5 separate regions of the Homo sapiens genome follow, and all the other regions are linked to region 1. The links are contacts of gene promoters, found by promoter capture Hi-C in blood cells and fetal thymus (Javierre and others, 2016). All regions are on one chromosome and are shown on one strand. The core of a region is centred on a gene start or on the middle of the fragment in contact, and the rest is flanking DNA. Distances in the headings are between cores, read along the strand shown. Region 1 holds the start of CA7 (carbonic anhydrase 7). Region 2 overlaps CDH5 (cadherin 5). Region 3 overlaps BEAN1 (brain expressed associated with NEDD4 1). Region 4 overlaps PHAF1 (phagophore assembly factor 1). Region 5 holds the start of CMTM1 (CKLF like MARVEL transmembrane domain containing 1).

Evidence for each region. The method cuts DNA at HindIII sites, captures the fragments that hold promoters and counts their contacts. A CHiCAGO score of 5 or more calls a contact.
Region 2: a contact is called between a fragment that was not itself captured here and the fragment with the promoter of CA7 in region 1, in 5 of 17 cell types (M0 macrophages, total B cells, neutrophils and 2 more). The highest score is 7.5, in M0 macrophages.
Region 3: a fragment that was not itself captured here is called in contact with the fragment with the promoter of CA7 in region 1 in 7 of 17 cell types (M0 macrophages, fetal thymus, total B cells and 4 more); the score reaches 8.2 in M0 macrophages.
Region 4: a contact is called between a fragment that was not itself captured here and the fragment with the promoter of CA7 in region 1, in 1 of 17 cell types (erythroblasts). The highest score is 5.8, in erythroblasts.
Region 5: a fragment that was not itself captured here is called in contact with the fragment with the promoter of CA7 in region 1 in 1 of 17 cell types (endothelial precursors); the score reaches 5.7 in endothelial precursors.

Annotation. Positions count from the first base shown.
Region 1 is chr16:66,841,636-66,847,283 of GRCh38, forward strand. CA7 (carbonic anhydrase 7) reads left to right here and starts at 2,779. Exons shown (of 7, transcript NM_005182.3): 1 at 2,779-2,892; 2 at 5,395-5,592. The coding sequence starts at 2,853. LOC124903699 (a long non-coding RNA gene) reads right to left here. Exons shown (of 4, transcript XR_007065088.1): 4 at 1-187. RefSeq lists an enhancer at 2,707-3,208. The HindIII fragment of the contact is 7,096 bases long and covers 2,323-5,648 here.
Region 2 is chr16:66,391,683-66,397,330 of GRCh38, forward strand. It overlaps CDH5 (cadherin 5), which reads left to right. Exons shown (of 12, transcript NM_001795.5): 7 at 454-701; 8 at 4,377-4,519. Among named protein-coding and RNA genes, the nearest start is that of LINC00920, 14 kb to the right of the region's middle. The HindIII fragment of the contact is 9,921 bases long and covers 1-5,648 here.
Region 3 is chr16:66,449,373-66,455,020 of GRCh38, forward strand. The region is part of intron 2 of BEAN1 (brain expressed associated with NEDD4 1); the gene reads left to right. It also overlaps the pseudogene LOC107984807. Among named protein-coding and RNA genes, the nearest start is that of BEAN1-AS1, 24 kb to the right of the region's middle. The HindIII fragment of the contact is 1,650 bases long and covers 2,173-3,822 here.
Region 4 is chr16:67,133,662-67,139,309 of GRCh38, forward strand. PHAF1 (phagophore assembly factor 1) reads left to right here. Exons shown (of 16, transcript NM_025187.5): 7 at 507-604; 8 at 694-806. Among named protein-coding and RNA genes, the nearest start is that of B3GNT9, 15 kb to the right of the region's middle. The HindIII fragment of the contact is 3,425 bases long and covers 1,294-4,718 here.
Region 5 is chr16:66,566,000-66,571,647 of GRCh38, forward strand. All of the region lies in intron 2 of CKLF-CMTM1 (CKLF-CMTM1 readthrough), which reads left to right. It overlaps CMTM1 (CKLF like MARVEL transmembrane domain containing 1), which reads left to right and starts at 440. Exons shown (of 4, transcript NM_052999.4): 1 at 440-946; 2 at 3,937-4,095. The coding sequence starts at 515. CKLF (chemokine like factor) reads left to right here. Exons shown (of 4, transcript NM_016951.4): 4 at 1-69. The coding sequence ends at 12. The HindIII fragment of the contact is 1,104 bases long and covers 3,025-4,128 here.

The DNA.
Region 1 (5,648 bases), core at 1,529-4,028:
TTTTAGAGAGGACTTGCATACACACACAAATGAGAGTCAAATTTAAAATCCGCTTCCTCCCTTTCCAGTGATTTTGGACAATATTGAACGAGGGACCCAGCAGCCCTGGGTTTTCATCTTTGTTCAGTCACTCACTGTGCATCTTCGAGCCCATCACTCATCCTCTCTTGAGCTTTGCTTTTCTCATCTGTAAAATGGGGTAAAAATCCCCCCAGGGTTACTATGTAGATGAAGTTGGATGCAAAACTATATGAAGAATTCCAATTGTATCTTTTTTTTTTTTGACACAGAATCTCACTCTGTAGCCCAAGCTGGAGTGCAGTGGTGCAATCTTGGCTCGCTGCAACCTCCGCCTCCTGGACTCAAGCAATTCTCATGCCTCAGCCTCCCGAGTAGCTGGGACTACAGGCACCTGCCACCATGCCTGGCTAATTTTTTGTATTTTAGTGGAGACGGGATGTCACCATGTTGCCCAGGATGGTCTTCAACTTCTGAGCTCAGGTAATCCGCCCGCCTCAGCCTCCCAAAGTGCTGGGATTACAGGCATGAGCTACTGTGCCAGGCCCAGTTGTATCTTTTAAGAACTACAAATAAATATGAAAAAGACCTGAGTCCCTCTGAAGAGGAAATGGGTCAATGGAGTTTGGGCTATCCCCAGAGCTCTCTCCCAGGTAAAGGATGTTGGCAGCTCTCCCAGGTAAAGGGTGGCTGGCTTCTCTGGGAGACAGAAGGTCCAGGCCTCACCCAGAAGCATGCCTTTGTCTTCTTGATCTGTAGATGCCATTTCCAGCTTGGAGACCTGGGGCCTTGACAGTGTTGGATTCTCTGTCACATCTGGTCTTGGGGGCTACTTATCTCTGTCATAAGTCCCCTGCCCCACCCTAGGGTCATATTTATATTAAGGATCCCTTCCTGCTCCTGGATCAGAGAGGGCCATCTTCGCAGGCCTGGGCAGTCACTGACATTGGCCCACCCAACCAGTTATCAATTAATCTCCATAGCTCTATCTGAGGATCTGGGGTTCAGGGCCTGGGAGAGGGAAACTGAGACAGACACAGAGATGAAGGGGAGCCAGGCAGACAAGATGGCAGATTCCTGTACAAGGTCAGCCAAGAGCAGGGCCTGAAAGAGTGTCTCTATTCAAGATCTGGACAGCAGACATTGTACTAGTGGCTGTTCGACTCCTGCTGAGTACAGGACCCCGGGTGGGATCATTTATCTGTCCTTCCATCCACCCCTCTGTTTGTCTTTCCAAAACTGCCTGCTGAGGACTAGCCAGAGACAAGCCCTCTCCCTGGCACAAGGCCACGTGCTAAGATGAATCAGATTGGGCCGGCTGGAGCCAGTGGGTGGAAGACAGAGGACGCACCAGGTGGAGGGCACAACAACGACCAGGGCTCGTGGGTGGGAAAATACTGGGCCAAGGCAGGCACTGGGGTTGAGTGCAGGGTGGAGGGTCTGAGCTCCCAGGGGGTGTACTGAAGGTTATGGGGAGGTCAGGAGAGGAGGGACAAACAGCAGGCTATGGAGGGACAAAGCAGAGTCCCTGAAGAAAGGAGGAAGCAGTAGACAAAATAACAGGGAGGGTGGAAGTCAGAGCCTCAGACTTAGCTCCATGGGGAAGCCACCTGGTGTCTGCCTGTCTTCAGGCCCATTGGTTGATGCCACTCCTTCTCACTCCCCCTTGGGGGATCTGGTTCCACCTGGGCCAAGGGTTCACATTGCCATTCCTGTCCCTGCATCTACCCCAGGGTTCCCGGACCCCCACACTCACAGCACACCCTTGTACCCAGCACCAAGGAGAAATGGTAAAGACCCCAGTGTCAGGCCAGGAGTGGTGGCTCACTCCTCTAATCCCAACACTTTGGGAGGCCAAGGCGGGTGGATTACTTGAGGCCAGAAGTTCAAGACCAGCCCAGGCAACATGGTGAAACCCCCATCTCTACAAAAAACACAAAAATTAGCTGGATGTGGTGGCACACACCTGTAATCCCAGCTACTTGGAAGGCTGAAGCAGAAGAATCACTTGAATCAAGGAGGTGGAGGTTGCAGTGAGCTGATATAGCACCAGCCTGGGTGACAGAGCAAGACTCTGTCTAAAAACAAACAAGCAAACAAACAAACAAACAAACAAATCCCACAAAACCCCCAGTGTCTGGAGTAAGAACCCCAGCTAATGAACCCTTTACCCCCTGGCTAGATGACCTTGGGCAAGTCACTTCACTTCTCTGGGCCTCACTCCCCTCCTCTGTCAGATAGGGCTGATGGAAGCACCCAACCTTGTAGGGTAACAGAGAGGGTTATACCATAGGAAGGACCCAAAGCTTGGTCCAGCGCCTGCAACAGCCTCTGGCAAACAGTGGAAGCTCCAGTTTTGGACACTTGATGGTCAGTGTAGTTTGCAGTTTAAAGGGGACTTTCCAACCCCAAAAGATTCAGGACCCAGAGCTCAGGTCTCTGGTGGTGGCATTTGCAGGTCTGGGGCAAGCCTAGGGAAGGGACGCCATGTGCGGCACGGGCATCTAGTGTCCCAGAGTCCGCACGGGTTGCTGGGGGAAAAAGAGGGATAGTCGCCCAGCCAGGGCAGGGGTGGGAGTTGGGGGGAGAGGGTTACTTCCTCCTGCCCTGAATCTCCGCTCGGGGTTCAACTGGCTCGCCGGCGGGCGAGGGCGGGGCAGGCCGGCCTCTCTGGCCCTGCTGGGGGGTGGGGGGCGGGTCCCCCGGGAACTGCTCCTCCCGCCAGCCGCTGCTTTAAGAGGCTGCTCCGCGGTAGCGAGCGGGGCCGGAGCCGCAGCCCGAACGAGCGGACCGAGCCGACCGGGCAGGTGCACGGCTGCGGGGACGGCAGCGGCATGACCGGCCACCACGGCTGGGGCTACGGCCAGGACGACGGTAGGCACAGACCTCCCCCACCGCCTCTGGCTCGGACCCCCGACCCAACTGCACTCGCCCCAACCCTCTTGCCCAGCTGGTTTCCCAGACCGGAAAGCTCCCACACTCCAGGCTGGGCGGGACCCCTCTTCCCATCCCGGCCCCCGAACTTGGCCCAAGCCTTGGTCCCCCGCGCCAGACGCAAAGTCCGCGCTGCGCCCCGGGTGGCCCCGCCGCCAGCAAGCGACCTGGCGGCTGTGTCCTGCCGCCTCCTCCGCGAAGCCCCTGATTGCCCAGCCCGCTCAGACCCAGGCCCAGACTCTCACTCACTCGCCCCGGGCGTGCGCAGCGCGTGGGGGTGGCCCAGGGCAGCGGGGGGCGGGCGCCGCGGAGCGCTGTGCGCGGGTGTCTGCGGGGAGCGCGCACGGCAAGTGAGCGGGGACCTCGGGGGAGCGGGGCTCCGCGTGGCAAGGGCGCAGTGTCCCCCGGAGAGAATTTCCCCGCAGAAGTGGCCGAGCTGCCTTCTCGGCCGGTACGTGAGGGAAGGGGGCACTTGGGGGCGCAAGCATGTGTCTGGGTGTCTACACCGAGCAGGGTGTTTGCGCACGTCCGGGTGTGAGTCGTGGGAGCCCGTGGCCCACACCAGCCTCCTGGGCTGACGCGGAAGAGAGCTCCTTCATCCTGCCTCAGTTTCCTTAGGACTCAGAGAAAGGGAGAAGAGGCAGAAGGTGAGAGCCAGACGGCTGGAGTGTGGGTCTGGGGCAGTCAATTCCCTTTGGGGCCATTTCTTACCAAGCAGGGGTGGGGGTGTGGGGTAAGGGGTTCCCTATTTCCCTGGGGAGCCAGTGCAAGACAGGTGGGGTGCGGAGAAGAAAAAGTAATGATGGGAGGAACATCCCCCAGCCCCACTCCTCTGCGGAGAGGCAGTCACTTTGTGAGGTTGGGTGGGGGACCACAGTCTGGGAAGCCAGAAAGTTGCAGTAGACCAGAGGGAGGGTGCTGTGGAGTCTTTGGCTCCCTCTGGGGCCCCAAGAACAAAGGAGCATATTTTGGAAGAGAACCCCCAGATCTGGGTATGCAAGAGCTGGAAAGAGACATTCAGAAAAAGATGATATAGACAAGCAGAGAGGGAGAGACAGGCAGACATGGGGCAGATGGACAGGACCCATAGGGATCATCTTCTCCCAGCACCTGCTCTGAGCCACCTTTTGGGTGCTTCCCCCAGAGCCAGAGTCCCCTGCCTCCAGCTCTTCTTGCTAGTCATGCCCACCAGCTCTGAGCACCCAGTGTCCTGTGTAGCCTGCTCCATGGGCCTGCTCCCCCAAAGCAGCCACCCCATCACCCAGGCAGAGCTGGATTGTCCAGTCGAGGAAGGGAAGGACAGAGGACAGAGGTGCCGGCATGCAGCAGTGTTCACAGGGCTTCAAAAATAACCCAGAGGGGCCGGGCCACGATTCTGAGTCATCCATTGGGGACACGGCTCTGTCGGCACCTGCTGCTGTTTTCTCAGGAAAACTTAAGAAGCCAAAAAGGGGGAGAAGCACCAGCCGGCAGTAGCTCTAAAAATAGGCTGCATCTCAGGATGTTCCCCAGGGAGATGCTGAGCCTCTCGGCTGCAGATGGATCCTCTGGGAGGCAGGTGGTGGGCGCCTGTGGGTGTGTATGCAGGTGTGTGTGTGTGTGTGTGTGTGTGTGTGCATGGGCATGTGTTTTGCTGTGGTCCTTTATGCAAACTTGGGTCTCCAACAGAGGGGTTTGTGTGTGAGAGAGCATATGCGTGTGTCAGATGTAGTCTGCAGGGCTGTGTGTGTGTTTGTACACATGAATGTTCTGGGCCTGGCTGCTCTGTGTGCACAATGGAAGATCATAGAAAGATTAATGTGTTCATAGGAAGATCTCTATGGACTTGCAGGCACACACATTGGGAGGGCAGCTGGGGGCAGTGCATGCACATGCTGTATTTATATTAGTACATATGCATGCACACATGTGTGAGTGGCCCTCAGTTCCCTCATCTGTGAAATGGGGATCTTGCTGGTTTCTATTTCACAAGGTGGTTGTGAGAGGCAAATACATGTCACAGAGTCAAAGCTAGGTTGATGTGAGTTTTTGTTGTTATTTATCACAAACACCAACACCAAATTGCCCAAGGCACAGAAAGAGGTGAGATACTGATGGGGTCAGGTCAGAGACTTCAGATGTCTGGAGGTCTCCCTGTTGGGGAGACTTATTACTCTGAGCCACCCCGAGCCTGTAGCTGTTATGTTCCCTTCCATACAGTACCTCTCTGGGCCTCCTATCAGCACTGGAAGGTGAGTTTTAGTGAGACCATTTCACAGACAAAGAAATGGAGGCTGAAAGGGGAAATGGCAAAGCTGGGATTGGAACTCCAAGCTGTGCAGCTCCAATGCAGGGGCTCACCTCTGAAAGGATGCTGAAGAGACCATTCCCCTATGGGTGTCCTCGGCCTGAAGCCCAGAGATCCTGGCTGGCCTGAGTCCTTGCCCTCCTCCCCACCTGCAGGCCCCTCGCATTGGCACAAGCTGTATCCCATTGCCCAGGGAGATCGCCAATCACCCATCAATATCATCTCCAGCCAGGCTGTGTACTCTCCCAGCCTGCAACCACTGGAGCTTTCCTATGAGGCCTGCATGTCCCTCAGCATCACCAACAATGGCCACTCTGTCCAGGTAGACTTCAATGACAGCGATGACCGAACCGGTAAGTGGCCCCTGCCAAAGCCTGGCACCTGGCCCCTGGCCCCTTAGGGTCCTAAC
Region 2 (5,648 bases), core at 1,409-3,908, 450 kb before region 1:
GAATCGCTTGAACCTGGGAGGTGGAAGTTGTAGTGAGCGGAGGTCGTGCCATTGCACTCCAATCTGGGTACCAAGAGCAATATTCTGTCTCAAGAACAAAGAAAAAGCCTGTCCTTAAGGACCTGTGGGTAGAACCACTAGTGACGCTCTTAAGAGCAGGACCATAGTTGATCCATTCTATGTCCCAAACGCTGGAAATAGGGCCAGGCACACAGCCAGGGTTGTGGGTGTGGCCATGAGGCTGCTGAGATGAAATGGGGAGCAGCTGAAGACAGACACCAGGCCCAGCCGCTGTCTTGATGACCTCAGAAATATCACTTGTCGAGGCCATGGGCCCCTCATCTATAAAATGGGTGTCATCCTGGTACTACCTTGCATAGTTGCTGTGCAGATCATGTGCCACACACATGCTTGGCCCAGAGCAGGCACTCACCATCCTTTTTCCTTACGCAGCCTCTGGATTATGAATACATCCAGCAATACAGCTTCATCGTCGAGGCCACAGACCCCACCATCGACCTCCGATACATGAGCCCTCCCGCGGGAAACAGAGCCCAGGTCATTATCAACATCACAGATGTGGACGAGCCCCCCATTTTCCAGCAGCCTTTCTACCACTTCCAGCTGAAGGAAAACCAGAAGAAGCCTCTGATTGGCACAGTGCTGGCCATGGACCCTGATGCGGCTAGGCATAGCATTGGGTAAGGGGGCGTGTGTCGATGAGAATGATAAGGACAATCCGGCCTGGATGTTCCTATGCCTGCTGGTCTGAGGCCAGGACTCAGAGAGGGGAACTGGCTTCTCCTAGCACTTACAGGGAAAGTGACAGAGGCAAGACCAGAAGCCCAAGCTCTTGCACTTGGCAGCCTGGCATCTTGACCTGCCTGGACTCCCCCACCTAGCATGGTCCTGGGCATCCAGAGCTACTTGTCCTCTGTCCGGCCTTGAAGGCTTATTCTCTGCACCACAGCTCTCACCAGTCCTATGTGGTAAGATCTGACAGTCAAGAAAGCAACCAATCAGACGACACACCAGAGGCCCCTTCACTAAAACTGTATTCTTGAATCTATCTTCCCCAAACCACAAAAGTAAGAAGTGTTCATTTTATACAGTGAAACAACACAGAGATCTACCAAGAAAACACTGATAACCCCCACTCTCAGATAACTCATGTTCGTGGCCTAACCTGGTCCTATTGCTCCTTTCTTTTCGTGACCACACAAACATGTGGATGCATTTATGGTGGGTTTGTTGTTGTCTGTTTGCTTTTGATGTTTGATTGTTTTAAAATTTTTTTGGATCATGCCATGCTGGTTTCATCGATATTTGCTCTTCTATCTTAACTAAATTTCTCTTTTACAATCTTTAGAAAAAAATGATATAGTTCCAACAGATACTTTTTAGAGCCATATAATATGCAATAGTAAGTATAAATTCAATTCAATCTTATTTTATTGTAGATGCATAGCTGATTTTGCCAGCACCATTTACTAAATATTATAATAATAAGTCATCGTTTTCCCACCTTCATTATATACTAAGTTTTCTGTATATACCTGTATCTACTTCTAATTCTCTGTCCTATCCATCATTCTATAGCAAAGCTATTCTGTTTTATTCTACTAGCTTGTATAAGTCCATTCTCCTATAAAGAAATAGTTAAGACTGGGTAATTTATAAAGAAAAGAGGTTTAACAGGAAGTATAGTGGCTTCTCCTTCTGGGGAGGCCTCAGAAAACTTACAGTCCTGGGGAAGCAGGCACGTCTTACACGGCCAGAACAGGAGTGGGAAGGGAGTTGTTACACACTTTTCAACAACCTGGTCTCATGATAACTCACTAGCTTGAGAACAGAACCTAGGGGATGGAGCTAACCCATTCATGAGAACTCTGTCCCATGGTCTATCCACCTCCCACCAGGGCCCACCTCCAACACTGGGGATTACATTTCAACATGAGATTCGGTGGGGACACAGATCCAAACCATATAGCTTTACACTAGATCTTAGATATACATAAAAGTCCTTCCCATGTTGCTTTTTTATTTGATATAATTTTTTGTCAACTCTCATTTTTTCTTTTGTGAAATTTAAAATTTTGTATCCAGGTTTTTTAAACATTAGAATTCTAGTGTTTATATATTAATTTTGGTATAGCTAATGTTTCAAGGGTATTAAGTCTTCTTATTAAGGACAAAATATGTTCTTCCATTTTGGCCTCATATCCTAAGTTTTGGGACTACTCTTCATTGCCATTCTTTTCTAAATAGCCTGTAATTATAATTTTTGTTTCTCCTTTGATCCAAGGGTTTATTTAAGAGATTGACTTGATTTCTTTATTTTCATTTATAAGTCATAGGGTGTTTTTTTTGTTTTGCTTTAGCTTGTTCTGTGATGTGATACAATTGTATTTGTGTCCACTTCTTCCTAGAATATCTAAGTTTTGACTTTATGTATTTAAATTTTTCTATTCAGTTAACAAAGGTTTGCAACTATTTTACCTTCATTATGGTTTGTAACTTTCATCCAAATGTAATTAGCCAATTTGTTCTGCTTAAATATTTTGCCTTTAATTCTGTTTCCTGATGTTACATTTGTTAGTCCTGTTTTCATGTTATTCATATACGCCTAATGCAAATTTTACAACCTTTACTTTTAATTTTTCCAGGTCATTTGGCATTAAGTTGTCTCTTGAAAACAAGAATGCATTTGGCTTTGCTTTTTAATCTAAACTGAAATGCTTTGTGTTTAACCTATTTACATTTTTCATCATAATTGATATGTTTGATGTTCCTTCTTTTATCTTGTTTTACATTTCTCATTTATCAAATTTAATGGCTTTTTTCTTTTTCCTCATCTTTGCTATACAGTCTATGTTTCTTTATTTTTTTTTTCTCCTAGATATTTGGATGAGGTGCATCCATTTTTATTTCTACCAGTGAGATTTACTTCTATCTGCAAAATTTAAAATGTTTTCTTGGACCTATATTTTCTAGTTAAAACTATTATAGACATACACACACCCATTGCTTTTCTATGTATGATAAAAAAAATCAATAGTTTTGTTTTAATTCTTCCCATGCCAGGTTTTTACTTTATATTGAGATGTTTAGTTAGATACAGTAAGTTTTCAAAAAAAAATTCAGGACACAAATATCTTAGTTCTTTGCCTTTTTTGGGGGGTGGGGGGGACAGGTTCTTCCTCTGTCACCCAGGCTAGAGTGCAGTGGCACAACCATAGCTCACTACAGCCTTGAACATCTAGGCTGAAGCAACCCTCCCACCTCAGCCTCTGAGTATCTGGGACTACAGGCACACACCACCACACCAGGCTAATCTTTTTTTTTTTTTTTTTTTTTTTTTTTTTTTTTTTTTTTTTTTTTGGTGAGACAGGGTCTCACTCTGTCACCTGGGCTGGGCTGGTCTTGAACTCCTGGCCTCAAGCAAACCTCCAGCTTCAGCCTCTCCCAAAGCACTCAAATTACAGATGTGAGCCACCATGCCCAACCTTGCCTTCTAATAACACCTAGATGTATTCGTATAATCCTCAGATTATAAACACTTCCCTTCAAAAATACTATCAATGTATTCTAGTATTTAATTTTGTGGGGGCATCTGAGGCAAATCTGATTTTTCTTTCCTCATAAGGAAATTATTTCTTTCTGTCTGGACTCTTTTCAGTTTCTTCACACAGCCTTGAAATTCGTAAGTGTCGTCAGGATTTGCCTAAGTATTGGGGTTTTTTTCAATGATGCCTGATGTCAATGACATCTTATAATGTGTAGACTCAAGCCTTTCTTCAGATCAGGAAACTTTTCTTTTCTTTTTTTTTTTTTTTTTTTTTGTTATTTCTTCTGTTCTGTTTGTTCTGGGATTTTCCTCATTAATAGCAACTATTATTCCTATATACACAAAACATATATATTTATCTTTCCATAGATTTTTCCTGATTTCTGAAAGAACTTTTTAAGTTTTTTATTTCACAAAGTTAATTTCTTTGTAATTACTTCTTATCTCTTCCAGCTCTTTTTGTATTCCTTCCTGGCTCTTGCCCAATGATCTTTTCATTAATCACTAAAACAAGTCCCAGCTATGGTGTGATGTCACCTGTTCAGCTCTGAAAGTGCATCTGATGGTCTCAGGTACCACCTCCAGTCCAGTGATGGCAATGTAACTAAGATCAAAGACATTATCTTGCTATCCTGAATCCCTCTGTGTAGGTCCACTCTTGTCTGAGTGGCAGAGTGCAATGAGCAGTGAGAGAGGGGCATGGAGTGGGATGCAGGGGACAGATGCAGAAGGGCCTTGTCCATCATGCTGAGGAGTGTAGACTCAGCAAAGAACAATGGAAAGCCATGAAACTCTCTCCCCTGGGCAGATACTCCATCCGCAGGACCAGTGACAAGGGCCAGTTCTTCCGAGTCACAAAAAAGGGGGACATTTACAATGAGAAAGAACTGGACAGAGAAGTCTACCCCTGGTATAACCTGACTGTGGAGGCCAAAGAACTGGATTCCACTGGTGAGTGGCCACATCTGCCAGGGCACCTGGATTCTTTTCCTTTTCCCTCATTCTTCCAAAACTGGCATAATCAATAATTTGGGGTCTCTAGACGTATTAGAAGTGCCTGCTGAAGCACCCGCTGGTTGGGATGCTATAGAGCTCCCATGCCCAAGTGTGGTCCTTGAACCCAGCAGTATCAACATCCCCTGAGACCTTGTTGCATCTCGGGCCTCACCCCCACACTGAATCGGAATCTCATGCATGTCACAGTTTGAAAACCACTGTCATGAAACAGGCTGTGCAGATGTCTCTGTGACGAGAATCACCCAAGTCACCTATTAAGCATAAAGCTCTACTCCACCCTGCAGGTTCTGGTCCAGTGAGCCAGAGATGTGCATTTAACAAGGGTCCCATGATTCTTAGTTATCATGGCTGTTTGGGAAATGTTCCTTCAGAGGGTGTTTATGCACCAGTTAATAGGTAGAATTCAAAATGTGAAGCAGCTTCCAATTTTGAGATTGTGAGTTTCTCTAGAAATTGTGTAATTTTTGCCAGAGGGAGGGGCAAGAGTTGGAGTTTTGCATCCTCTATCTATATTAGAAAATCACAATCACCCTCCAGGAGAACTATTAATACTCCCACTTTACCCAGGAGCCCGCTAGGCCAAGGATCCCTGGCGCCTGCCGGGCCCACCCAGACTCACTTCTGCCAACACAGCTGCTGCCCCAAACTGTAATGGACTCCTGCATGTTTGGCCAGATCAGTCTTTGCTTCTTTCTCCTCCACATAATCCCATTCATAGACTCTTTACATTTAAATGGTTTAAAATACGGAAAATACAGAAAATGAGAAGAAAATACTCCTCCCACCAATGCCACCATGCAGAGACAGTTACTATTAGCACATTCATGTATTTTTATTTTTATACATATTTTTATACTTACATGAGATTGTAATGTTTGTGTAAGATATTATATTCCACATTTTTACTTAACCTTTACTTAACCTTATTCCAGAACCACTTTCTCATGGTACTAATTTTTTTTTTAAGAGAGAAACAGGGTCTCACTCTGTTGTCCAGGATGAAGTGCAGTGGCACGATCACAGCTCACTGCAGCCTCTAATTCCTGAGTTCAAATGATCCTCC
Region 3 (5,648 bases), core at 1,748-4,247, 390 kb before region 1:
CAATGCGGGCAGATCACCTGAGATCGGGAGTTCGAGATCAGCCTGGCTAACATGGAGAAACCCCGTCTCTACTAAATATACAAAATTAGGTGGGCATGGTGGTGCATGCCTGTAATCCCAGCTACTCAGGAGGCTGAGGCAGGAGAATCTCTTGAACCCAGGAGGCAGATGTTGCAGTGAGCCGGTATCGCACCACTGCACTCCAGTCTGGGTGGCAGAGTGAGACTCCATCTCAAAAAAAAAAAAAAAAAAAAATCACTAATGAAACAATTTAAAGTTTTTCAAAAAGATTATATTTTTTCAAGATAAAAGGTACCTCCAATGCTTTAAAATATCAGCAGTGATCCCAATAGTTCAAGGACTATTATGAGTATGTGTGGCTATTATACACACGCAATATGTCACCAACACACTCTAAACAGTGAGAATAGAGCACTGTGGCATTGCTCCCATATTATTCTTGTGAGGGAGTAGGATGATCAATTACACCTGCAATACTAGTGTGCTGGCGTGTCTACCAAGTGTAAGATCCAATTATCTAAAATAATATGATGATCAAATTCCCAGACATTATGTAATTTATTACTGAATTTGTATATTCAGAAACCTGGGAAGTGCTCTTTAAATTCCTTCAAACTAGAAATTATCCTAAGCATTAAATAAAAACACTGAACTAAATAGTGTAACCACAAGAGTGGCTGAAGTTCAGTATCTGACTTAACAAATGTTTACATATCATTTCAATATCAATTTTAGCTCAATCTTAGCACATCCAGGGTTTCTCCTGCAGTGGGGCTTATTTTTCACTGTGCAAGAATGAAAGCCCCAGCTCTACACGATTGTCTTATTACGAGAGCCGTGGGGATGGCAAGCTGATGAAACACATGCAGGAGAACATAGGTGCTCACAGCACTTTCCCTTTGTCTGACATTGGCTTTGATTGGCTTTGATTTAGAACAGACTGAAAAAAACATACAAAGGCTGAATGAGGGTCTGTTTCTAAGTGTACTGCAATAACCAAGACCTATACTTCTACTACTGCAAAAATCTTTGCAGGATGGGTCTGGATGGGGTGGCTCATACCTGTAATCCCAGCACTTTGGGAGGCCGAAACGGGAGGATCGCTTGAGGCCAGGAGTTTGAGACCAGCTTGGGCAACATAGCAAGACCCTGTGTATACAAACAAAATTTTAAGATTAGCCAGGTGTGGTGGTACACACCTATAGTCCCAGCTACTTGGAAGGCAAAGGCAGGAGGATCGCTTGAGCATAGGAGTTCAAGGCGGCAGTGAGCTATGATTGTGCCACTGTACTCCAGGCTCCAGCCTGGGTGACAGAGCAAGAAGACCCTGTCTCAAAAATCAAAAAAGAAAGAAAGAAAGAAAAGAAAAAGAAAAAATCTTTGCAGGATGAGAAGTATTCAAGGGACACCTACACTGAAGCATAGGTGAGCAGAGGTATCAAAAGCACTGATAATATGAGTCATCATTAAAAGACAGTCTAGGTAAATATCACACATTTCCATTCAGCAGCTGCTGTGGCTTGCATATTTTGAACTGAAAAGGAATCCTGTGGGGGCTTTTCACTTATCACTTATTTGAAGAAAGGCTGTTTTAGGCCCCCTCATTGAACACAAGGCCTAGGTTTCAAAATTAGTTTTCCAGTATCATCACCAGACATATTATACTCTGTTAATACTGTTTGACACTGAACTGCTGTAATTGATGGTGCAACTACCTCTTGTGCATCCAGCAAAGAACAAACCTATTAGAGTGAAAAGCTAATCATGAAAAAATGGATGATTCCATAAAGACGTGAAGAAGGAACTCTTTTGTCTCGGGATCTATTAACCACTCCCAGGCACCAGTACAGACAGATCCCTCCATGAGAAACATTCTCCAGTGTCCTGGGGCAGGTTGCAAATGATGAATATATTTAGAGAATCTTCTTTCAAAATCTTTCACTTGTTCCAGCCATGACCTTGACCTTGACCCTGGATGCCTCAGTCCCTGTGCAGGCCCTCAGCCCTCCACCACTTTGCAACCCAAACTCCAACCAAAGTTTTTTTATTTTAATATAGTCCAATGTATCCATTTTTAAATGGTTAGTATCTTCTGTGTCCTGTTTAAGAAATGCAAGGTCATGAAGATGTTCTCTGATGTTTTCCACTTCAAGCTTTACTCTTTTGTCTTTCACATTTAGTTCTGAGTCTAGGGAATGTCTTTAAATTTTGAATATTTGATTGTCATGTATTGGGCACCTATTATGAGCCAGGCATCCTGCTAGGCAGTTTGCTTTGATTAGCTCATAGCCGAAATTGCTGCTCCCATTTTACAGATGAGGCAATAGAGGCTTAGAGATCTGACTTGCTCAGTGGGCACTGCCAGCAAGAGGCAGTGCCAGGACTTGAACCCAGGATTGTCTGTGTCTTATTTAACCAGAGTTCTGTCCTAGTCCAAGAAGCAGGTCAGCTCCAGCAAAGGAACTCGGGACTTTGGCTGCCCAAGGAAGGTGGCTGAAGGATGATCCTTTTCCAGAGACCCTAGAGCTGCTTACCTTCTCAGGATACTAAACGTTGGTGAACACAAGGCCTGGGACTGGGACTGGTTTGATTCTCAAAATAGCTCAGGCCTGCAAAGCAATCTGATGGGGAGTGGGGGATAAAGAACTTCTCCCCAAATGCCCCATAATGTTTTTTGGAATCCACATGCCATGAACCTCATGCTGGGAAACTACTCCAAAGCTCCATGGTTTAGTGTGATGTTGGCAGTCAGTTGAGATCATCAGGATCTATCATGGCAAAGAGGTAACTGTCTTTTCCTATTCTACTGGTTTCTCTCGTCCTGCCTACTGAAGTAACATACTATGCTAATAGATTTCCTGATCTTAAATCATCCTTGCATTTCTGGAATAAGCCCTAGTATACTAATTTTAATACACTGCTACCCTGATGCTGGTTTTCCAAATGCCCTTGTAAATTCTGGGAAATGAAGGAATCTCTGAGGATCAGAGGACAAAATCCTATCACCTTTAATGTGCTCCAGAATCGAAAACCACAGGGCCATGCCTTTTGTAGGCCTCTGGCTTTGGGCCTGGGCAGCATGGTGAACAGTGAAGGAGCCATAATTGCTGTCCCACCAGAAAGGCCTAAAGGAGTTGGCAAAAGCATGCCCATCCAGTGTGACATTTACAGAGGTCAGGTGGCACCAGAATCCCTCATGGGTGTTTGGCGAAGGGATCTGTGGGGAGACCAGGAATCTGAGTGCGTTGTCAGGTGAGTGTTTATTGGGGAAATTTCTAGACGCTTTTTGCAGGACAGACATTCCAGAGTGTAGAGAAAAGGAGGATGGGGTTTAGAGATGGTTTGCTTCATAGCTGGGTTTCCCAATCCTCATGGCACCTCACGTGGCAGACTCACTTACCCCAATGCCCAACTGTACGGCCCCAGAGTAACGAAGGGACACACAGCTCCCCAGGATGGAGAGAGGATATCATATTATTCCCTGGTCTATGGAGTCAGAACCAGGTTCAAATCCTGTCTCCCTCCCCCCAACTAAAAATTGTCTTTGCGATCTTGGGCAAGTCACTTCACCTTCCTGAGCCTCAGTACCCTCATCTATTAAATCAGATTACTAGCACCTACCTCATAAAGCTGCTAAGATTTGTAAATTTTATCTTTTCAAAAAAACAACTTTTGGTTTCATTGATATTCTGTGTTGCTTTTCTGTTTTCTAGTTCGTTGATTTCTGCTCTCATCTTTATTATTTCCTTCCTCTACTTGCTTTGGGTTTTGTTTACTCTTTTTCTAGTTTCTTAACATGAAAGCTTAGGTTTTCAAGTCGAGGCCTTTCTTCTTTTCCTTTCTTCTTTTCTAATATAAGTATTTAAAGCTATGAATTTCCCACTAAGCATTGCTTTAGCTGAATTCCATAAATTTTGATACTATGTTGTGTTTTTTTTCATTCTGTTATACACACACACACACACACACACACACATTGTTTTGTTTTCTGAAGACAAAGGCTTCAAAAGGCTGGAGTGCAGTGGTGCAATCATAGCTCACTGTAACCTTGAACTCCTGGGCTCAAGCAGTCCTCCCACTTCAGCCTCCCAAGTAGCTGGGACTATAGGCATGCACCACCATACCCGGCTAACTTTTTATTATTTTTTTGTATATACAGGATCTCACTATGTTGCCCAAGCTGGTGTCAAACTCCTGGGCTAAGGCAATCCTCCCACCTTGACCTCCCAAAGTGTTGGGATTACAGGCATGAGCCACAGTGCCTAGCCTAAAATATATTTTTATTTTTATTGTGATTTCTTCTTTGACCTATAGATTATTTAGAAGCATGTAGTTTAATTTTTTTTTTTTGGGTCAGGGGGACAGAGTCTTGCTCTGTTGCCCAGGCTGGAGTGCAGTGGCACAATCTCAGCTCATTGCAACCTCTGTCTTCCAGGTTCAAATGATTCTCCTGCCTCAACCTCCCAAGTAGCTGGGATTACAAGCACATGCCACCACACCTGGCTAATTTTTGTATTTTTAGTAGAGACAGGGTTTTGCCATGTTGGCCAGGGTGGTCTCAAACTCCTGACCTCAAATGATCCTCCTGCCTCAGCCTCCCAAAGTGCTGGGATTCCAGGCGTGAGCCCACCACGCCCGGCCTAATTTCTAAGTAGTTGGGGTTTTCCCGGATAGTTTTCTATTTTGGATCTCTAATTCCATTGTGGTCAGAGAACATATTTTGTATGATTTAAATCTTTTTAAATCTATTGAGACTTGTTTTATGGCCCATATGTGGTCTATCCTGGAGAATGTCTCATGTGCACTTGAAAAGAATGCGTAATCTTCAGTTGGTGAAGGCTTCTATGAATGTCACACTGGTTGATAGCGTCATTCAAGTCTTCTGTATCCTGGCTGAGTTTCTAATTGCTTTGTCAGTTATTGAGATTGGGACATTAAAATCTCCACTATTATTGTTGAATTATCTATATCTTCTTTCAATTCTCCCAGTTTTTACTTCATGTTTTGGGGGACTTGTTAAGTGCATATATAATACATATATAGTTTTTATATCTTCCTAATATGTTGACTTTTTTGTCATTATGAAATGTCTTTGTCTCTAGAAATATATATCTTGCCTTAAAGTCTATTTTGCCTGATATCAGCATAACCACTCAAGCTGTTTGTATGCTATATCTCCTTCCATCCTTTTATTTTCAAACTATTTGTGTCTTTGAATCAGGTGTGTTTCTTGCAGTCAGCATACAGGTAGGTCTTGTCTTTTTATTTACTCTGACAATCTCTGCCCTTTAAGTGGAGTTATTAATCCATGCATACATCTTCCTTTTCTTTCTTTCTTTTTTTTTTTTTTTTTTTTGCTTTGGGTTTGGTTTTTTATTTTGTTATTTTTATTTTTTCCTGAATATGGATCATACTTTATAAGACAAAGAAACAAGAAAGTGTGATCCATTTGGATGGGCTCTTTCCAACAGTAGCAGGGAAGCTGCTGGTTTTCACAGACTGGGGAGCAGAGCTGGTGGGGAGGGGTATGGAGGCAGTCATAGGCAAGAACATTACAGGTTCACACTGTGCTTACCTGACATTCAGTCTTTTTCATACTAAGTGCTTCTCAGTTCGTTGTATGCCTT
Region 4 (5,648 bases), core at 1,756-4,255, 290 kb after region 1:
CCCAGCTACTTGGGAGGCTGAGGCAGGAGAATGGCGTGAACCCGGGAGGCGGAGCTTGCAGTGAGCCGAGATCATGCCACTGCACTCTAGCCTGGGCGACAGAGCGAGACTCCGTCTCAAAAAAAAAAAAAAAATTAGCTGGTTGTGGTGGTGCACACTTGTAGTCCCAGCTACTCAGGAAGCTGAGGCAGGAGAATCACTTGAACCTGGGAGGTGGAGGTTGCAGTGAGCTGAGATCATGCCACTGTACTCCAACCTGGGTGACAGAGTGAGACTCCGTCTCAAAAAAAAAGAAAAAAAAAGAAAAGGAAAACCAAGCAGAATTAAAGGTGGACTTACATGGTTTTGGGGAGTTTACTGACCCAGAGCCAGAGAGCCAGGTTTAAGGGTGTACTTTGACCCTTTGACCTGAGCAGCTCTTGAAGACCATGAGTGACAGGGAAGACCAGAGCCTGAGTCCCATCACCTGTTGTGCCCTAAGTAAAACTCTTGACCTTTGTTTGCAGCCCAATTTTGCCCATGGCCTGGCTTCTCTCCAGATACCCCATGGAGCAACTGTAAAACGAATGTACATCTACAGTGGCAACAGCCTGCAGGATACCAAGTAAGTATAAGGAGCATGAGTTTCTTGCTAAGGCCTGGGCTGCCTGGGAGAAAGAACCAAGCCTCTGCTCATTCTGTGTCTGTCCCCAGGGCTCCCATGATGCCTCTGAGCTGTTTCCTGGGCAATGTCTATGCTGAGAGTGTAGATGTTCTTCGAGATGGAACTGGACCTGCAGGTTTACGACTTCGCCTACTTGCTGCAGGTCAGTGACTGGCTTTGAGGTTGGTACATTCCGCATTATACCCATGTTGAGACAGTCTAAAATCCCACGTGCTTAGGGTGTGTCTCAGTCCATTCAGGCTGCTATAATAAAATACCATAAACTGAGTGGCTGCTAAACAACAAAAATTTATTTCTTGCAGTTCTGGAGGCTGGGAAGTCCAAGATCAAGGCACTGGCAGATTCAGTATCTGGATGCGCCTGCAGTCTAGTTCATAGAAGAAACTTCTCCCCGTATCCTCATATGGTGCAAGGGGCTAGTTAACTCCCTGGAGTCTGTTTTTTAACGGCACTGATCTCAATCCTGAGGTCTCTGCTTCCATAATGTAATCACCTCCCAAAGCCCTGACCTTCTAATACCATCACCTTGGTGGTTAGGATTTCAACATATGAATTTTAGGGGAACAAAAGCATTCAGTCCATTGCCACATAGTTGGTAGAAGACAAATGATGCAGATGTTTATGGTTAAAGCTTTTGTTTAGTTTTGTCAAGGGACTGGACATAGTCTTATAATTAGCAAATCTTAATAAGCAACAGCACTGCTTCTCTCAGCATGCACATAGGCCTGCTGTGTGCTTATATAGCTTTGTGACAGTTCCCAAGTGTTTCCTGGAGATGCATCCTGTGGGTTGCAGTGCTACTGCTCTCCCCTTTTTTGTTTTTTTCTTTTTCTTTTTTTTGAGACAGAGTCTTACTCTGTTGCTGAGGCTGGAGTGCAGTGGCACGATCTCAGCTTACTGCACCCTCTGCCTCCCAGGTTCAAGTGATTCTCCTGCCTCAGCCTCCCAAGTAGCTGGGATTACAGGCACGCATTAGCACACCCGGCTAATTTTTGTATTTTTAGTAGAGACAGGGTTTCACCATGTTGTTCAGGCTGGTCTGGAACTCCTGACCTCATGATCCGCCCACCTCGGCCTCCCAAAGTGCTGGGATTACAGGCGTGAGCCACCGCACCTGGCCAGCTCTCCCCTTTTTTCTACCTTTTTTTGTTTTGTTTTGTTTTGTTTTGTAAGAGATGGCCTCATTCTGTCATCCAGGCTGTAGTGCAGTGGTGCAATCATAGCTCACTGCAGCCTCAAAACTCCTGGGCTCAAGTGATCTCACCTAAGCCTCCCAAGTAGCTAGGACCACAGGCATGTGCTACCATGCCCAGTTAATTTTTGTCTATGTGGAGATGGGTCTTGCTGTGTTACCCAGAATGATCTTGAACTCCTGGGCTCAATCGATCCTCCCTCCTTGGCTTTCCAAAGTGCTGGTATTACAGGTGCAAGCCGCTACACCCAGCTTTTCTCCCTATATTATCCAGGCCGGTGTGCATTGGAATACTGTGGCCTTGAACTCCTGGGCTCAAGCAATCCTGCCTTAACCTCCTGACTAGGCTACAGGCACGCACCACCATGCCTGGCTCTCCTTTTTCTACCCTTTATGCCAAGTTCTCAACGTAGGCAAGCAGACGGGACTTGTTGAATTGTGGTTTGGCCACACCTTGGCCAGAGTTTTGCCAACCATGAACAACAACAACAAAAAGAAATAGTTGGCCGGGTGCAGTGGCTCATGCCTGTAATCCCAGCACTTTGGGAGGCCAAAGCGGGTGGATTACCTGAGGTCAGGAGTTCAAGACCAGCCTGACCAATATGATGAAACCCCATCTCTGCTAAAAATACAAAAATTAGCTGGGCGTGGTAAAGCACGCCTGTACTCCCAGCTACTCAGGAGGCTGAGACAGGAGAATCGCTTGAACTCAGGAGGCGGAGGTTGCAGTGAGCTGAGATAGCGCCATTGCACTGGAGCCTGGGCAACAAGAGCGAAACTCCTTCTCACAGAAAAAAAAAAAAAAGAGTGCCACCTTCAGTAGCTGGTCCCTCCAGGATCCATGCCTCATTTTGTGACATTCCCATGCCTGGCCAACTTCAGCTGCTTTGGGTTGTGGATCGTGCTTAACGGGACTGGGAGCTTCAGCGTGGAGTTTGTTCCCATAAAGAGAGCTGAGAACCTTCGTGGAGCTCATTGCCTAACCAGCATTTATTCGTAAATTGGGTTCCTGCATCAGTCTCTGAGGCATTGATTCCTTTTTTTTTTTTTTTTTTTTTTTTTTTGCTTCTTTTTTCTTTCTTTGAGACATGGTCTCCCTCTGTCACCCAGGCTGGAATGCAGTGGCATCATCATAGCTAAGTGCAGCCTTGAACTCCTGGGCACAAGGAATCCTTCTGCCTCAGCCTCCGAAGAAACTGGGACTACAGGTGCACACCACCACACCCAGCTAATTCTATTTTTTTGTAGACACGTGGTCTCCCTATGTTGCCCAGGCTGGTCTCAAACTCCTAGCCTTAAGCGGTCGTCCCACCTCAGCCTCCCAAATGGTTCTTAATTATTAAGAATCTGGTATATAGGCTGGACACAGTGGCTCACGCCTATAATCCCAGCACTTTGGGAGGCCGAGGTGGGCGGATCACGAGGTCAGGAGATTGAGACCATCCTGACTAACGGTGAAACCCCATCTCTACTAAAAAATAGAAAAAATTAGCCAGGCATGGTGGCAGGCGCCTGTAGTTCCAGCTACTCGGGAGGCTGAGGCAGGAGAATGGCGTGAACCCAGGAGGTGGAGCTTGCAGTGAGCCGAGATAGCGCCACCGCGCTCCAGCCTGAGCGACAGAGCAAGACTCCTTCTCAAAAAAAAAAAAAAAGAATCTGGTATATGAACTCTGAGCCCACTTCTGTGAACAGTTAGACAGTTCACAACCTTCACGTTACGAATTTCTTAAAATGTGATTTTCTAGCCAAGACAGAACAACCACTTAAAGGAGTGTCATGCTTAAGCTATGGTTTTGGGGTTTTTTGTTGTTGTTGTTTTTTGACAGAGTCTTGCTGTGTTGTCCAGGCTAGAGTGCAGTGGTGTGATCTCAGCTCACTGCAACCTCTGCCTCCTGGGTTAAAGCGATTCTCATGCCTCAGCCTCCCAAGTATCTGGGATTACAGACGTGTGCCACCACGCCAGGCTAATTTCTGTATTTTTAGTAGAGATGGGGTTTCACCATATTGACCAGGCTGGTCTCAAACTCCTGACATCAAGTGATCCGCCCGCCTCAACCTCCCAAAGTGCTGGGATTACAGGTGTGAGCCACCGCACCCAGCCTGAGCTATAGTTTTTGAGAGAATTGAGATGTGGCAGCAAAGTCAAGTGATTTAGTGTGGTTTTTTCCCAAGAGGATCACTGCTTGAAACAGCAGGGTGGTCAAGGATCAGGGTCATTAATCATCCCAGGAGACAGCAGGAGGAGCCTGTCGAGGGTGGGCTCTCAGCCAATTATGTCTGCCACCTTGTACAGCACATTCCCAGCAGTCACACTGCTCACTGCTTACACTGTCAGCAGGGCAAATGATTTGTTAAGTCAGGGCCTCAAAGGGTTATCGTCTTCACTGAGAGTTTCCTGTGGCAAGCACAAGTTTCTCAACCCACTCATTTCTCATATCCTTCCTTATGGAATATGGCTGCAGTGATGCTTTTAATGCAGGGAGTCAGTTCAGCCATCTGGTCTCCACAATAATTTGTAGAAAGATACACTTTGGGGAATCACAATCTAAAAAGTAGCTGAAACTCTTAGTAATTATACCTGGATATACTTCAAGCAGAGGGAGACAGAAGACTTACCTTTGAAGGGTGCCTTCCTTACAGCCCCCATCTGACATCCACACGTATCTGGTGCCTGAAGAAATGTGTTAGGCCACTGGATACTTTGGGCCCAGAGTCCAGCTTGACAGGACTTTTGGTGGGTTCTATAGGTCACCCAAGGCTTGCCTAAGCCTTTATTTCCCCCTCAGTGTATACTTGCTGAGAATAGAGATTCTTGGGTTAGTTGAACTCAGTATTTAGTTATTTCAGATTTGGGTTCTCTGAAGCTTCTGCATATAAAAAATGGATTGTTACACATGAGAGAACTTTGACAACTGTAAAGCCTTGTGCTGAGTAAGATGGTGTCAGTGATTATCATGGCACCAAGAATTACAATCCTTCTCAGATTCTTGGCTTCCTTTTTTTTTTTGCTGGGTGGTGGGAGCAAAAACCTTGTCTCCCCCTCCACAAAATGGGGAAATTTTTACTGTTGGTGTATCTATTACTGTGCCACAACCACTTCTACATTTGTGTGTTTGTGTGTGTGTCATTAACTGTAATCATTTCTGAAATGTTTTATTAGAAAAAGTCAGAGCTTAAAGATTCTTCCCAAAGAATAAACTTTTGGCAAATCAGAAGGTCTTTTATTCCTCCACTTAGCTGGTTTGTCCCTTTTGAGTGATAATGGCTCTTGTCTGGGTTGGAGGGCTCTGTCAGGTGTTTGTGTAGAATTAGGGAGACAAGTAATGCATGCTTCACTCTACTTGTTGATAGAGCAGTTTTACAGGTTCAGTGTCTCTGGTTAGGGGTTACCATTGAGAGTACTTTTGTAGTTTTTTTTTAAGACAGTGTCTCACTCTGTCACCCAGGCTGGAATGCAGTGGTGTGATCTTAGCTCACTGCAGTCTCTGCCTCCTGGGCTCAAGTGATCCTCCCACCTTAGCCTCCCAAGTAGCTAGGACTGCAGGAGTGTGCCACCACGCCTGGCTAATTTTTATATTATATTTTGTAGAGCCAGGGTTTCACCATGTTGCCCAGGCTGGTCTTGAACGCCTGAGCTCAAGCAGTTCACCCCGCTTGGCCTCCCAAAGTGCTGGGATCATAGGCAAGAGCCACCACACCCGGCCAAGAAGTACCTCTTAACATAAATCCTTGCATCTTACCATAGTTGTGTGATGATCTGATTAAGGTCTTCTCCAGCACACATAAGCTCCA
Region 5 (5,648 bases), core at 2,327-4,826, 270 kb before region 1:
GAAGTTTTGTAATTTTATATTACTTTTTAGTTTGATACTAAGTATTAAACATATTTCTGTATTCTTCCACATATTTTCTGCAGTTATTTTAACTCAGTATAGGAGCTAGAGGAAGAGATTTCCGAAGTCTGCACCCCGCGCAGAGCACTACTGTAACTTCCAAGGGAGCGCTGGGAGCAGCGGGATCGGGTTTTCCGGCACCCGGGCCTGGGTGGCAGGGAAGAATGTGCCGGGATCCGCCTCAGGGATCTTTGAATCTCTTTACTGCCTGGCTGGCCGGCAGCTCCGAGGTGTGGGGTTGCAGAGATTTTGAGTTCTCGGGCTAGGCGGTGGCATTGCACCCCCTGTGGCAATGAGGGTGGCTGAAGGGCTCGGCTTGTCGGTGGGGCAGCGAGAGCCGGGTGCACGCGCCGGGGAGGTAGCCAACAGCCGTTGGGACGCGACGCTGGTTCCCAGGGGAGAGCCAGCCGCTGCCGCGGCACTGGTTCAGACGGCCAGGCCCTAGGGACCCACCATGGATCCTGAACACGCCAAACCTGAGTCATCCGAGGCACCTTCAGGGAACTTGAAACAACCGGAGACTGCCGCAGCCCTGGCAAGTAGCGGCAGCGTAGTGAGTTCTGTACCCAAGGCACAGCGCAACATCTCAGCGAAGACCGCACCCCGGAAGCACCCCGCAGTCTCAATTCGCAGTGCGCAGTCCGCAGCCGCCGCACGTCCCCAAGGCAGTGAGGGCACCGCACCCTCAAGGAAAGCCACCACACGCCCACCCCCAAAGCCCACACTCCCACCCCCCACGCCCTCTGCACACACTGAATCCAAACTCTTAAATGAGATGGCGATCAAAGAGCGCGTGGAGGGCCGAGCCAAAGTCCCGTACAAATTCAGGGACAGCCTCAAACGTTTCTCCTTCTCGCCCACTGGAATGTTGAAGATCCTGAGACTGGTGAGCGGAGAGCTGGTGAGACCTAGCTGGGCGGATGTGGCCGGCAGTGGCCTCGGGGAAATGCCCACGGGGTGCCAGCTCCAGAAACCTTCCATAATTCACTTTGCCACTCACCTTTGTTTTGCCTCACCTTTCCTCCCCACCACCCCCTGCTCCCCACACACTAAACCTTTCCTACTAAACTTGCCTCTTTTTTTCCCTATTTTTTCTTTTTTTTTTTTTTTTATTATACTTTAACTTACGGGGTACATGTGTAGAACGTGCAGTTTTGTTACATAGGTATATACGCGCCATGGTGGTTTGCTGCACCCATCAACTCGTCACCTACATTAGGTATTTCTCCTAATGCTATCCCTCCCCTAGTCCCCCACTCCCTACAGGCCCCAGTGTGTGATGTTCCCCTCCCTGTGTCCATGTGTTCTCGTTGTTCAACTCTCACTTATGAGTGAGAACATGCAGTGTTTGGTTTTCTGTTCTTGCGTTAGTTTGCTGAGAATAATGGTTTCCAGCTTCATCCATGTCCCCGCAAAGGACATGAACTCATCCTTTTTTATGGCTGCATAGTATTCCATGGTGTATATGTGCCACATTTTCTTTATCCAGTCTATCATTGATGGACATTTGGGTTGGTTCAGTTTCCTCTCACAAAGGAAATTAGGGAAGCAATGAAGATAATAGGAATTTATAAGTTAGGAAACAAAAATAATAGAATCAGTCAATACAAGAGCTGTCGTTTGAAAGTCCTATTAAATTGATAAGCCATTGGCCAACCAAGAAAAAAAGGGGGAAGAAAAGACATATATTTAAAATTAGAAACCAGAAGGGGAAAATAATCACAAACATCAGCAAAACTGAAAGGATCTACAGGAGTACCTTGCAAAATAGATGTGAATAATTGGATGAAATGGTTGATTTTCCAGAATAATGTAAATCACCAAAACTGATCCCAGAATAGGGAAAAATCTAAACAGGGCAATATAAACATAGAAGAAAATGAGAATTTTAGCAAATGAGTATCTTTCAAAAATGTATCAGGCCCAGACCTTTTTACAAGTTAACTCTTTCAAGCCTTCATGGGATATAATTCTGACACTACTCTAACTTTGTCAAAGAATAGAGAAAGAAGAAATAACTTCTGAACTATCTTTACACAATCAGTATAATACTGATAGGAAAACTTGACTGAGTTCAGAAAAAGAAAACGAAGTAGAGATCTCACTTGCATCAGAACAAAATGTCAATCTATTAGCAGATAATATTCATCAGTATTTTTTGAAAATACAATACCACAAGAAAGAAACAGGATGATTCAATATTAAGATTCTATTAAAATAATTCACTGTATTAGAAGTAAAAGTGAAAATGAGATTATATCTATCACATTATAAAAAATTAGGAGATTATGTCACAGAACATGTGACAAAATTCAACATTTGTCCCTGATTGCCAAGAAGGGAGACCAGTAAGATAGGAGTATATAAATATTCCATTGACATTGTAAAAATAAACATTTCAAACTAAGAGTCAGCATATTTAATTAAATATCAGAAGTATTATTTATTAAATGAGGGGAAAAATGATGCCTACACCATGAGTCAATTTTTTCTGAAACCACTAGTCATCATAATTAGGAATGGGAAATAATATTTGAAAAGAGGTGGCCAGGCGCAGTGACTCACATCTGTAATCCCAGCACTTTGGGAGGCCAAGGTAGGCAGATAACCTCAGTCAGGAGTTCAAGACCAGCCTGGCCAATATGGTGAAACCCCGTCTCTACTAAAAATTCAAAAATTAGCCAGTCTTAGTGACACGCGCCTGTAGTCCCAGCTACTCGGGAGGCTGCGGCAGGAGAATTGTTCGAACCCAGGAAGCAGAGGTTGCAGTGAGCTGAGATCACACCACTGCACTCCAGCCTGAGCGACAGAGCAAGACTGTCTCAAAAAAAAAAAAAAAGGAGGTAAAATATATGCTTTCTTTCAGCTAATGTAATTGCATATCTAGAAAAAAACAAATCAACTGGAAACAATTTAGAGCAAGATGATTTAGTCAGGTGACTCGTTATTGTGTTAATAAATAAAAGCTTTCCTAGACAAATAACCACTTAAAATATAAGAAAATATTTCTGTTTACAACAGTCATCAAAAATGATCAAATATCTAAAAATAAGTGAAATGTGATACACATATGGGAAGAAAACTTTAAAACTCTCCTGAGAGATATTTTTTAAAAACCACTAAAATAACTGGAAAGATATATTTTGTTCTTGAGAAAAACTAAATTCTGTAATTTTTCCAAATTATAAGTAAGTATTTCATTTAGAAATCCCAACTAAAATGCCAACAGGCTTAGTCTGGGGAACTTGACCAACACAAACATGGGAGACATAAACAGTCTGAGAATGAGTAAGAAGAGGAAGACTAGGTGAAACAATAACTCAGTATAGAGTGAATTGTCTATAACTTAGAGTACTAGAGAAGGAAGCACCAATTCAATGGAAGAGAACAGTCTCAAGAGACCGAACTACATCTGAGAATTTAGTATACAATAAAGGTTGGATTTCAGATCAATAGGGATAATACTGGCATTTCCCAATAAATGATGTTGAGATAATCAGCAGCTGTTTGGAAAGAAAGAAAACTGAGGCTCTTCCTCACTGTTTCTACCAAAATCAATGTATATGTACTTTACCAGTATATATACAGACTTCTTTCTAGTATGAAATATAAACTGTTAATAGTGGTTACTTTTAAGGAGAGAGACTAAGGTTGGGTTGGGGGAAGAGAAAGAAATTGGTATTATTTTATCCTTCTATACTGTGTGCTTTTTTTATTATTTTCATGTATTTCATTTCTTCAAAATGTAAGAAATGTTAAAAATGTATGTGCAAAACAATACAGGCCACTGTACTGTGATATAATCAGATTTACATTCTGACAATGTAGATTTTTTTAAATCATGCATTAAAACAAATCCTGTTTCTTTTATTGCAGAGTCTTATCTTAGGAGCATTAGCTTGTTTCATCATCACCCAAGCCAATGAGTCATTTATAACAATCACAAGTCTGGAAATCTGCATTGTCGTTTTTTTTATTCTAATATATGTGCTAACCCTTCACCACTTGCTGACCTATTTACATTGGCCCTTACTTGTAAGTGTTCATTTTTACAATTCTTCAAATCCAAGCTTTGCCCTCAGCCCCAGAGTAAGGGCTCTCCTTAAGTGAAAACAACGGAGCTATCTCTCTAGACAAGGACATAGCTGAGCTGTGACAGTTAGGGTGTTGCCCTGGTCCAGAAGGATTCCTTGAACCCTTGTGCCTGCAGGACAGCCAACACACCGCTGCTCCAGCCCTGAGTGTAAAACCCCTCATTATGGCACTAGACACATGGTACTTTTCAGCTTGTCCTAAAAAAATATATATACTTAGTATATAAAGTAGGTAAGCACATTTCTCAGCCATTGCTTGTACAACAGTGCATGCTTCTACTTTGCAGAGAGCACTCTGATTATAAACATTCTCCCCAAAAGCAAAAGTTGATATGATGGCATTGTAGAAAATTGCCGTGCATACACTTAAAGATTGTAGTCAACCTGTGTGTGTGTGTTAGGGTCCATATCACAAAGAGGTGCCGGACTATCCAGAAAAAGACATTACAGAGCCTTCTTTAATAGCTTTTCCCAGACTTTCACATTCTTTGCCAACTGAACAATTGCTAAAGCTAACCCCTCAGGTCTCAGACTAGAGAGGCAGTACGGTTTTGTCCAGAGGCAGCCATAGGCCCAGATTCTGGTCCTGCCACCTTACTAGCTATGTAACCTTTAGCCTCAGTTTCCCCATTTAAGAAATACAGAGAAGGAAAAGTATGATAATAACTACCTCATAGGGTTCCTGAAACATTTAAATGTGTGCAAAGCCAATAACATAGTATGTGACACAAATTAAATATTCTAATGTCCAAAAAGAACAGCCACCCATCAGACCCATCAGATAGCTGGGTGGCGTTTGCCATTCTGTCTTGCGCTGTGAACAATCCTAATTCAGAGCTTAGGCCTCTTCCACATCCCACTTCCTTATAGAACATTTTTCTAACCTTAAAGTCAGAATGTTCCTTTTGAGCTAAAACTCAAACATTGTCTTCAAATCTGTGAGAGATTTTCTCAAAGGCTGCTGAGCTCTCTCTGTCCCACAGAATGCCGAGTACAGGAAGCAGACAAAGCAAATATGAGCAACTTTAATTGAACATGTGGAAGACCCTTTTAGTTATGGAGAGGTTTCTCAGGGGAAACTCAAATCTCTGTCCGTGGAAATTTTCAAGAAGGGAAGGTAAAGTAACCATTTTTGAGCATATACCATGTGCCAGATACTTTTTCATGTCACCTTATTTAATCCTCACAACAACCCAGTGAGGTTATGGTCACCCCTCACCCCTCATTTAACAGATGAGAAAATTGGATTAAAGACATTCAGTTGCCAATTGAATTCAATTCAGTAGCCATATGTAGGTGCCAGAAACTCAGATATGCACCCAGGTCTATCTGACTCTAAAGCCCAGACTCTTTGCAGACTTTACAACCTATTATCTTGTGATGGTTTTCTATCTCCATTCTCCATTAAGGTAAGAAACTCAGTGAAACTATGTCTTTATGTCCTCCTCAGCTTCTCTAAATTTTATCTCTGTATCTTGTTTCCTCATGCTTTTC